Regions from separate parts of the Homo sapiens genome. Here all the other regions are linked to region 1. Evidence: promoter capture Hi-C in human tissues and cell types (Jung and others, 2019). All regions are on one chromosome and are shown on one strand. The core of a region is centred on a gene start or on the middle of the fragment in contact, and the rest is flanking DNA. Distances in the headings are between cores, read along the strand shown.

What was found. Contacts are between HindIII fragments. The study calls those that stand out against the background at their distance.
Region 2: a fragment that was not itself captured here is called in contact with the fragment with the promoter of C9orf153 in region 1 in 4 of the 25 tissues and cell types used here (H1 embryonic stem cells, heart right ventricle, mesenchymal stem cells and 1 more).
Region 3: a contact is called between a fragment that was not itself captured here and the fragment with the promoter of C9orf153 in region 1, in 2 of the 25 tissues and cell types used here (liver and mesenchymal stem cells).

Annotation. Positions count from the first base shown.
Region 1 is chr9:86,258,407-86,261,106 of GRCh38, forward strand. It overlaps C9orf153 (chromosome 9 open reading frame 153), which reads right to left and starts at 1,251. Exons shown (of 4, transcript NM_001276366.4): 1 at 1,144-1,251. It also overlaps the pseudogene RN7SKP264. The HindIII fragment of the contact is 6,872 bases long and covers 1-2,700 here.
Region 2 is chr9:86,193,863-86,196,562 of GRCh38, forward strand. No RefSeq gene overlaps it. Among named protein-coding and RNA genes, the nearest start is that of C9orf153, 64 kb to the right of the region's middle. The HindIII fragment of the contact is 4,388 bases long and covers 1-2,700 here.
Region 3 is chr9:86,340,635-86,343,334 of GRCh38, forward strand. TUT7 (terminal uridylyl transferase 7) reads right to left here. Exons shown (of 27, transcript NM_024617.4): 6 at 2,441-2,529; 7 at 368-419. Among named protein-coding and RNA genes, the nearest start is that of TUT7, 12 kb to the right of the region's middle. The HindIII fragment of the contact is 6,359 bases long and covers 1-2,700 here.

The DNA of each region.
Region 1 (2,700 bases), core at 1-2,500:
TTGAAGTAATTACTTTTAGAGAGCTTGTTTGGAGGTTCTAGCAGGGGAGTGCAGCTACTCATATACCCTTGCCCAAAGAACGGCCCTCCTCTGTTGGGGAAGGTTGTCCGCAGCGTCTGGAAGGACGCATGTGGACGGATGAGGGAGGAAGGAGACATCCACCTAGCCAGCCAGATCAGACAAATTAACCCTGGCCATCAGTGGGGTGACAGATGTTGCAGCCAGATCACCCTCACATCCGGAAATAATTGCTTTTAAAACGCAATATTTGAAAACCTGAATTTTCTTGGGTAAGCAACTATTATATTGCTAATTTAACGAAACTTTTTTTAAAAATATTAATATACTTAAATTTTAGAGCAATTTTAGAATTGGTTAGAAAGTACAATGTTCCCACAACCCCCCTTCTCTGCACCATACACACAGCTTTCCCCTTTTTTTTTTACTACTTATGTTTGTGTGGTACGTTTGTTATACTTGATGAGCCGGTATCAATGCATGGTTACTAACTAAAGCCCATACTTCACAGTTTACATTACGGTCCATTCTTGGTGTTGTGCATTCTATGAGATTTCACAATGTGCAATTACATATATCCACTTTGATAGTATCATACAGAGCAGTGTTTTTTTTTTTTCTTTGAGATAGGCTCTCATTCTGTCACCCCAGCTGGAGTGCAGTGGCGTGAACACAGGTCACTGCAGCCTCAACCTCCCAGGCTCAGGTGATCCTCCCATCAGCCTCCCAAGTGGCAGAGGAAAAACAAAGGACACTGGGTGTGAGGGAGAGGTGCAAAGTCAGGACCAAGCATCCATGGGAACACAGGGGAGGATGAAGGCACTGAGGTTGGGGAGAGAGAGCAGAGCTATCAGTGTTGAAGGCCGGAAAGGATGAGGGAGTCTGCAGGCTCGGCCCGATCAACTGGTTCCAGCTTCTGTGACCTGCCTGGAGGAAGATGAAACAGGCTCCTCATCCTTATTGGTAAAGATAAACCCAAATCCCATCTCACCTCCCAGCTCTGGTCTTCCCACCTTAGCCACTGCCCACCTCACTCCATCTCTCCTTGCCAAGCCTAGACTGGCTTAGTTTTCACTGCTCTGTGGTCTCACAGTGCCCCGTGGCTATGGCTGTAGATGCACTTACCACTTGTTTTACAGTTGTCTCTTCACGTGGTCATATCTGTCTTGAGTCTCTGCACTCCCAGGGCAGAGGCTGGGTCTCATTCATCCAGCAGCCCCAAGGCCCAGCCCCACTCCTAGCATGTGTCATTGCTTAGTGTTAAGTGACTGTCCATTGTGACATGTGGACATTCTCAAGGTCACATAAGCAGCTATATGATGCTAAGCGATGGGGAATTATCTTGCTGCTTGGTGGGGGGTGGGAGACGGTGGAGGATGATGGAAAAGCATTTTTAAAGAGTGAACATTGAGTAGCTGAGTAGCTACTTTTTTTTCTGCCTCAGCTTGTGGCTGGGACCCCGGGCGCACGCCACCACGCCTGGCTAATTTATGTATTTTTCTCTAGAGATGGGGTTTCGCCATGTTGCCCAGGCTGGCGTGAGTATAATTTTTTTTTTTTTTTGAGATGGAGTCTCACTCTGTCGCCCAGGCTGGAGTGCAGTGGCACGATCTCAGCTCACTGCAAGCTCCGCCTCCCGGGTTCACGCCATTCTCCTGCCTCAGCCTCTTGAGTAGCTGGGACTACAGGTGCCGTGAATGTAATTTTTAATCAGTCAAGTTTTTCCTTCTATAGACATGGGCAAAGTGCAAATAAGAAATTGAGAGAGATAATAGAAGGTACAGCTATGCTCTTTGCACCTGGCCAGATATGGGTAGAAGTGGACCAGGGGCTACCTGGCTGTGCAAATTCTCTCCATGAGCCATGCAGCCGTGCTCCAGACTCCATTCCCCACCCATGGGAGGTCCCTGTGGCAATCACTGAAAATTTTCCTGAAACAGCCATTTCCCCAGAATGCAATCTACTGGGCATTTAAATAGTCTGATTGAGTTAATAACTTGTGAACACCGTGGCAACATATCCATAACATGAAGCTTACCGTGTTAAGCCGTTTTAGGTACACAGTTCTGTGGCATTCAGTACATTCACATTGTTGTGCCACCTGCACTGCCTTCCATCTCCAGAGCTTTTTCATCTTTTCCACCTGAATCTGTGTCCATGAAATAAATTTCTCACCCCCTGTCCCCTGTCAATGGACACCTGGGTTGTTCCTACCTTTTGGCTATTGTGAATAATGCTGTTATGAACATGGATATACAAGAAAGTTAATAATTTTAAGCAGAATTTAATAAATACAGAAGATTCTTCCAATGAGAAAATATTTCAAAAGCCTGCCATTCAAAGGTGTTCTGCAGAGCAACAGCACTGGCTTCACTTGGGCCTTTGCTACTAATGCAGAATCTCAGGCTCTGCCCTGGACCTTTGTTACAGAATCTGCTTTTTTTTTTTTTTTGAGACAGTTTTGCTCTGTCACCCAGGCTGGAATGCAGTGGTGCCATCTCATGTCACTGCAACCTCCCCACCTCCCAGGTTCAAGTGATTCTCCTGCCTCAGCCTCCTGAGTAGCTGGGACTAGAGGCGCCCACCACTATGTCTGGCTAATTTTTGTGTATTTTTAGTAGAGATGGGGTTTCACCATGTTGGCCAGGCTGGTCTCGAACTCCTGACCTCAAGTGATCCACT
Region 2 (2,700 bases), core at 155-2,654, 64 kb before region 1:
GATTATTTTAGAGGTTTAAGATTTAATATCTACCCTGCTGGGTTTCAGACTTGCATGGGGCCTGTAGCCATTTCCTTTTGTTCAATTTATTTCTTTTGGAATGGTAATGTTTAAATAATGCCTGTACTACCATTGTATCTTGGAAGTAAATAACTGTTTTGATTTTACAGGCTCATAGGCAGAAGGAGATGAGTCTCAGATGACTTAGGACTTTGGACTTGATTAATGAGTTGAAATGAGTTAAGATGTTGGGGGACTGTTGGGAAGGGATAATTGTATTTTGCAATATGAGAAAGACATGAGATTTGGGGGACCAGGGGACAGAATGATATGGTTTGGATATTTGTCTCCTCCAAATCTCATGTAGAAATGTCATCCCCAGTATCAGAGGTGGGGCCTGGTGGGAGATGTTTGGATCATGGGAGCAGATCCCTCATGAATGGCTTAGCACAATCCCCATCACCATCTGAGTTCATATAAGATCTGGTTGTTTAAAAGTTTAAAAAAAGTTTAAAAGTTTCCATCTCTCCTTGCTCCTGCTCTCACTGTGTGATACGCTGGCTCTTGCTTTGCCTTCCACCATGATTGTAAGCTTCCTGAGGGCTCCCCAGAAGCCAAGCAGATTCCAGTGCCATGCTTCCTGTACAGCCTGCAGAACCATTAGCCAATTAATTCTGTTTTCTTTATAAATTACCCAGCCCCAGGTATTTCTTTATAGCAATTCAAGAATGGACTAATACAGTTAGAAATAGATTTTTTTTTAAGTCTAAAGAGCATAGCAAACATCAACCTAAGGACTAAAGTATCTACTGTTCCTGTCTCATACCTGCTGTACTTCTGATAAGAACATCCTCTTTCCTGGGACCTCAAATACTTAGACAATCCCCATTCATTTTTTGAGATGAAGCTTAAACATGTCCACCTTTTAAAGCCTCTCTTGATCCACCCAAACCTGGAGAACTTCAATGATTGCATTTACATTGGCTCCTACCTTAATTATCCCTCAGTGATTGCATTTACGCCAGCCCCAACTCAAAGATTGCATTTACACTGGACTACACATCTTTATGTCCCCCATAGACAGCTGTCCCCCAGGTACCTGCTTTGTTCATTTCACATCCAAGCATCCATTAGAATGCCTCTCTCATGGTAGGCACTTCACTCTAAAATCCTTTTGGGAACAAAGTGACTATGTGATTTGAAGAGAAAAAGAAAAAAATAAAGGAAGGAAGCAAGCAAGGCAGGAAGGATAGAAGGAAGGAAGGAGCAAGAACATTAAGAATGTTCAAGTTGGCTGGGCATGGTGGTTCACGCCTGTAATCCCAACAATTTGGGAGGCCTAGGTGGGTGGATTACTTGAGGTCAGGAGTTCAAGACCAGCCTGACCAACATGGTGAAACTCCATCTCTACTAAAAATACAAAAATTAGCTGGGCATGGTGGCGGGCACCTGTAATCCCAGCTACTCGGGAGGCTGAAGCAGGAGAATCACTTGAACCTGGGAGGTGGAGGTGGCAGTGAGCTGAGATTGCACCATTGCACTCCAGCCTGGGTGACAAAGTGAGACTCCATCTCAAACAAACAAACAGAATGTTCAAGTTATTATATAATAAGTGATTTTAAATATTAATAACTGAAATTTTACTGAAGTACACATTTTGTTCAACTCAAATTAGAGGCAGCACAGTTTAGAAAAAAAAGGTACTAAGCTATGAAAGCAGAAGTTTTGGTTTTGACACTTGACTTTCCTCTCTGCTCACCTTGCTACTTTTCGAGTTTTTTTAATCTGTTAACAGATAAGGGATTGGACCTCATCTGTAAGATCCTTTCCAGTCCTTTTTTTTTGAGACAGAGTTTCACTCTGTCGCCCAGGCAGGCTGAAGTACAGTGGCATGACCTTGGCTCACTGCAACCTCGGCCTCCCGGGTTCAAGAGATCCTCGTGCCTTGGCCTCCCAAGTAGCTGGGATTACAGGTGTGTGCCACCACGCCTGGCTAATTTTTGTAATTTTAGTAGAGATGGGGTTTCACCATGTTACCCAGGCTGGTCTTGAACTCCTGACCTCAGGTGATCCACCCGCCTCTCCCTCCCAAAGTACTGAGATTACAGGCTCACACCTGTAATCACCATGCCCGGCCAGATCCTTTCCAGTTCTAAAGAGTCAAGAGAGCAAGCCAGAGCAGAGTGAGCTCTGAGTTGGCTGTTCTCTTTCTCTTCATCCACCATGCACTATGAAGAGTACTCTAGGCCATATCCCGTGCTAAGCTGGGAAGGTAGATTGTCAGATAGAAGAAAACTTTGACCTTTAAGGCTCACAGCCCAGTGGTGAAGCAGACAGGAAACAGAGAAGGCCTCCTTTTGGATATATGCAGGGGATGCGTGGAGTCCACACTTCATATGGCCTCTGTTGGCATCAACTTTCTTCACTGGGCCCCCCAACCCTCGCTCTGCTGTCTGGCTTCTGCCCTAGCTCTTGTGCCTTGTACATGAAGTATTTGTTGGGTGAGTAAATAAATGAGTTAATTGTCATGATGGAGACATGGCCAGGGAATTCTGAAAGCAGGGAGGAGGGGGTCCTAACCCAGTCTGGACCCAGGAGACGAGGGGGAGAAGTGATGAGAAAAGGTTTTCTGGAGGGGATTTAATGATTAGAATTAGCCAGGCTAAGTGTTTGCGTAATGAAGCTTCCAGGCAGTGGACA
Region 3 (2,700 bases), core at 79-2,578, 82 kb after region 1:
TGGGTTACACCTATTCACTGTTGGTAAAATACTGATTTTAACCATTGATAAAAGCAGATTATCCTTCAGTTTTACCCTCAAGAGTACATTTTACATATTTTGCATTTCTTAGTCACATCTAGGACTCATTTAATCTTTATAAATAGTGATGATGTCATCAAGCTAAAAGCTTTACTTATGAAATGGTTATTCTGCATAGTAGAACTACTAACAGGACTCTAGTTAATAATTCATGGGCATTTGCTTTGGATATTACCCACATAAATAATTTTAAAAGCATGCCTTGCTATTTTCAAAGTTTGAGAAATAAGATAGATCCAAATTATAGACAACATAAAAATTTTTTAAATGTGGAATTTGGCCTTACCACTGTTCTTTAAACATTCTTGAACAAGTAAGAGGACATCTGGCTGAGACATCTAGGAAATAAATCAATGAATACATGAAATTATTCCTAAGTGATTTTGCTTCACTGATATAAGAGTCATCCGAAGTTCCCCAAATTCCTTTCTAAATGAGAAATGCACATTGCTATCAAAGTAAAGAAATTACTCACTATGTTGTTTGCATATGTCAGTCAAAGACAGACAGATCAACACCAAATGAAGACAAATGTGGGCAAGAGACCTACTATACAACTAACTTCTGATTTAACTAATTATTGAGGTTAACCTGCCTCTCAGCAAGTCTCAAAGTGGTAGCTGGAAGTTTGTCAAACTGCTAACAATATTACCTTTCACTCTAATACCATTGCAACAGATAGCTTACTGGTCCCGGAGTCAGTCTTGCACTTCTTTTTAAAATCCTTGTTTCGCAATGGAGCCAGGGCCATTTAAAATCATAAACTGTATCCTTACAACTCTCAATGACTTCTTACTGCCCTTAGGTCAAAACCAAATTCTTTATTTACCATGGTCTACACAATTCGGCCAGTCAAGCCCAGCCTACCTAGCCATCCTAATCTCCTGCTCTTCTTTTTCTTGGTCCCTTCACCATACTTACACAACCTTTCTTTTAGCTCCTTGAATATGCCAAACTCTTTATTGATTTAGGGTATTTGCAAATGCTGCTCCCCCTGCCTGAAACTCTTTTCCCTCCCGTTTCCCCCTCTCCTGCAGGCTCCTTTTCGTCTTTTAGAACTCAGCTTAAATGTTCCCTCTTCAAAGAAGCCTTCATGACTGCTGTATCTCTGCCCAGACCTTGTCATTTTCTATCCCTGAACCTTTACCTGCACAGCTCTCACTATAATTACAAGGTAATTACTAATCTCCTTTACTAGATGAGTTCCATAAAGAGGAACCATCTCTGTTTTGTCCTTTATAACCTAGTATGTCTGCCATACAAATGGGATGAGTGAATATTTGCTAAATGAATTAATGACACCGGATCAAAATAACTGCTATGGCTGGTAAATCACTGATCAGAATTTAAGGTTAAAAAAACAGTCTATTGGGTAGCTTACCAGGTAGCTACAGCACTCAGGTTTAGCAAGAAGTAAGAGGTTGTAAAATAGAACCTCTGGGGCCCCAGAATCTGGATTTTTTTTGAGAGAGGTGGGGCTGGCCAGGCTGTTCATGAACTCCTGGGCTCAAGTAACCCTCCAACCTCAGTCTCCCGAGTAGCTGGGATTAGAGGGTGAAGCCACTGCACCCAGCTCAGAATATGGATTTTTAACAAGCAACCCAAGTAACTGCAAACACATCATCTATAAACAGGCCTGTGGGAACTAACAGCAGAGAAATGGATAATCTACTAAAGTGCCTTTCAGTTTTTTGTTTTTTTAAGAGATAGGGTCTCACTATGTTGCCCAGGCTGGAATGCAGTGGCAATTCTCAAGTGCAGTCACAGCTAACTACAGCTTTGAACTTCTGGGCTCGTGATCCTCCCGCCTCAACCTCCAGAGTAGCTGGGACTACAGAACTGTGCCGTGTCCAGCTACACTCCAGTTTTAAAATTCTAACTCATCAACATACTTTTAAATCATGTTTAAACCAGAAATCCAGGCTAGGTGTGATTCTTTAAAAGCCTAATTATTTTAACAAAATAGGTATACAAAAAGAGGAAACTCCAGAGACAATTAAGCTTGCAGATCATAAATGTTTAAATATCTACACTTTAAAATCTGAATTCCCTTTCTGCCACTGGAAAGTTGATTTTATCAAGAAAATTTACTCTTTTTAAGTAACAGAACCTAAACACCCCCATCAGGTGCACATGGTTGAAAAACCAGTGTTGGATGTATAAAAGATCTATAGACTAAAATAAGTATGAAAATTTGCAGAGTATTAAAAAAAAAAGCTCTGAAACTGAAGGCAAGCGGATGCTGTCATTACACTTAAAATATCTTCAAATATCTAAAATATATTCATAGACAGTTTACATTTGTAAGAAAGAATTTCCATACCACTCTGAAAGTGCCAGCATTTCATTTTGTACTTACAATGGCTGGAAACTGGATGTCAATGTTTACATCCGAATTTTTGAAACCCAATCTGCTACAGGATGACCCATATAATCTTAGGGAACAATCTAAAAAATAAATAAATAAATAAAAGTAATAAATACAGTAGAATTTCTCAAAAGTTATAACAAAACACTGCTATTTCAGAAGCAGAACCATCAATTAAAATTACACACAAAAGCAAACTTGTATTCAAGACTAGCATAAACAAAGGACAGAAATAGGTGGCTCTTTGCTCT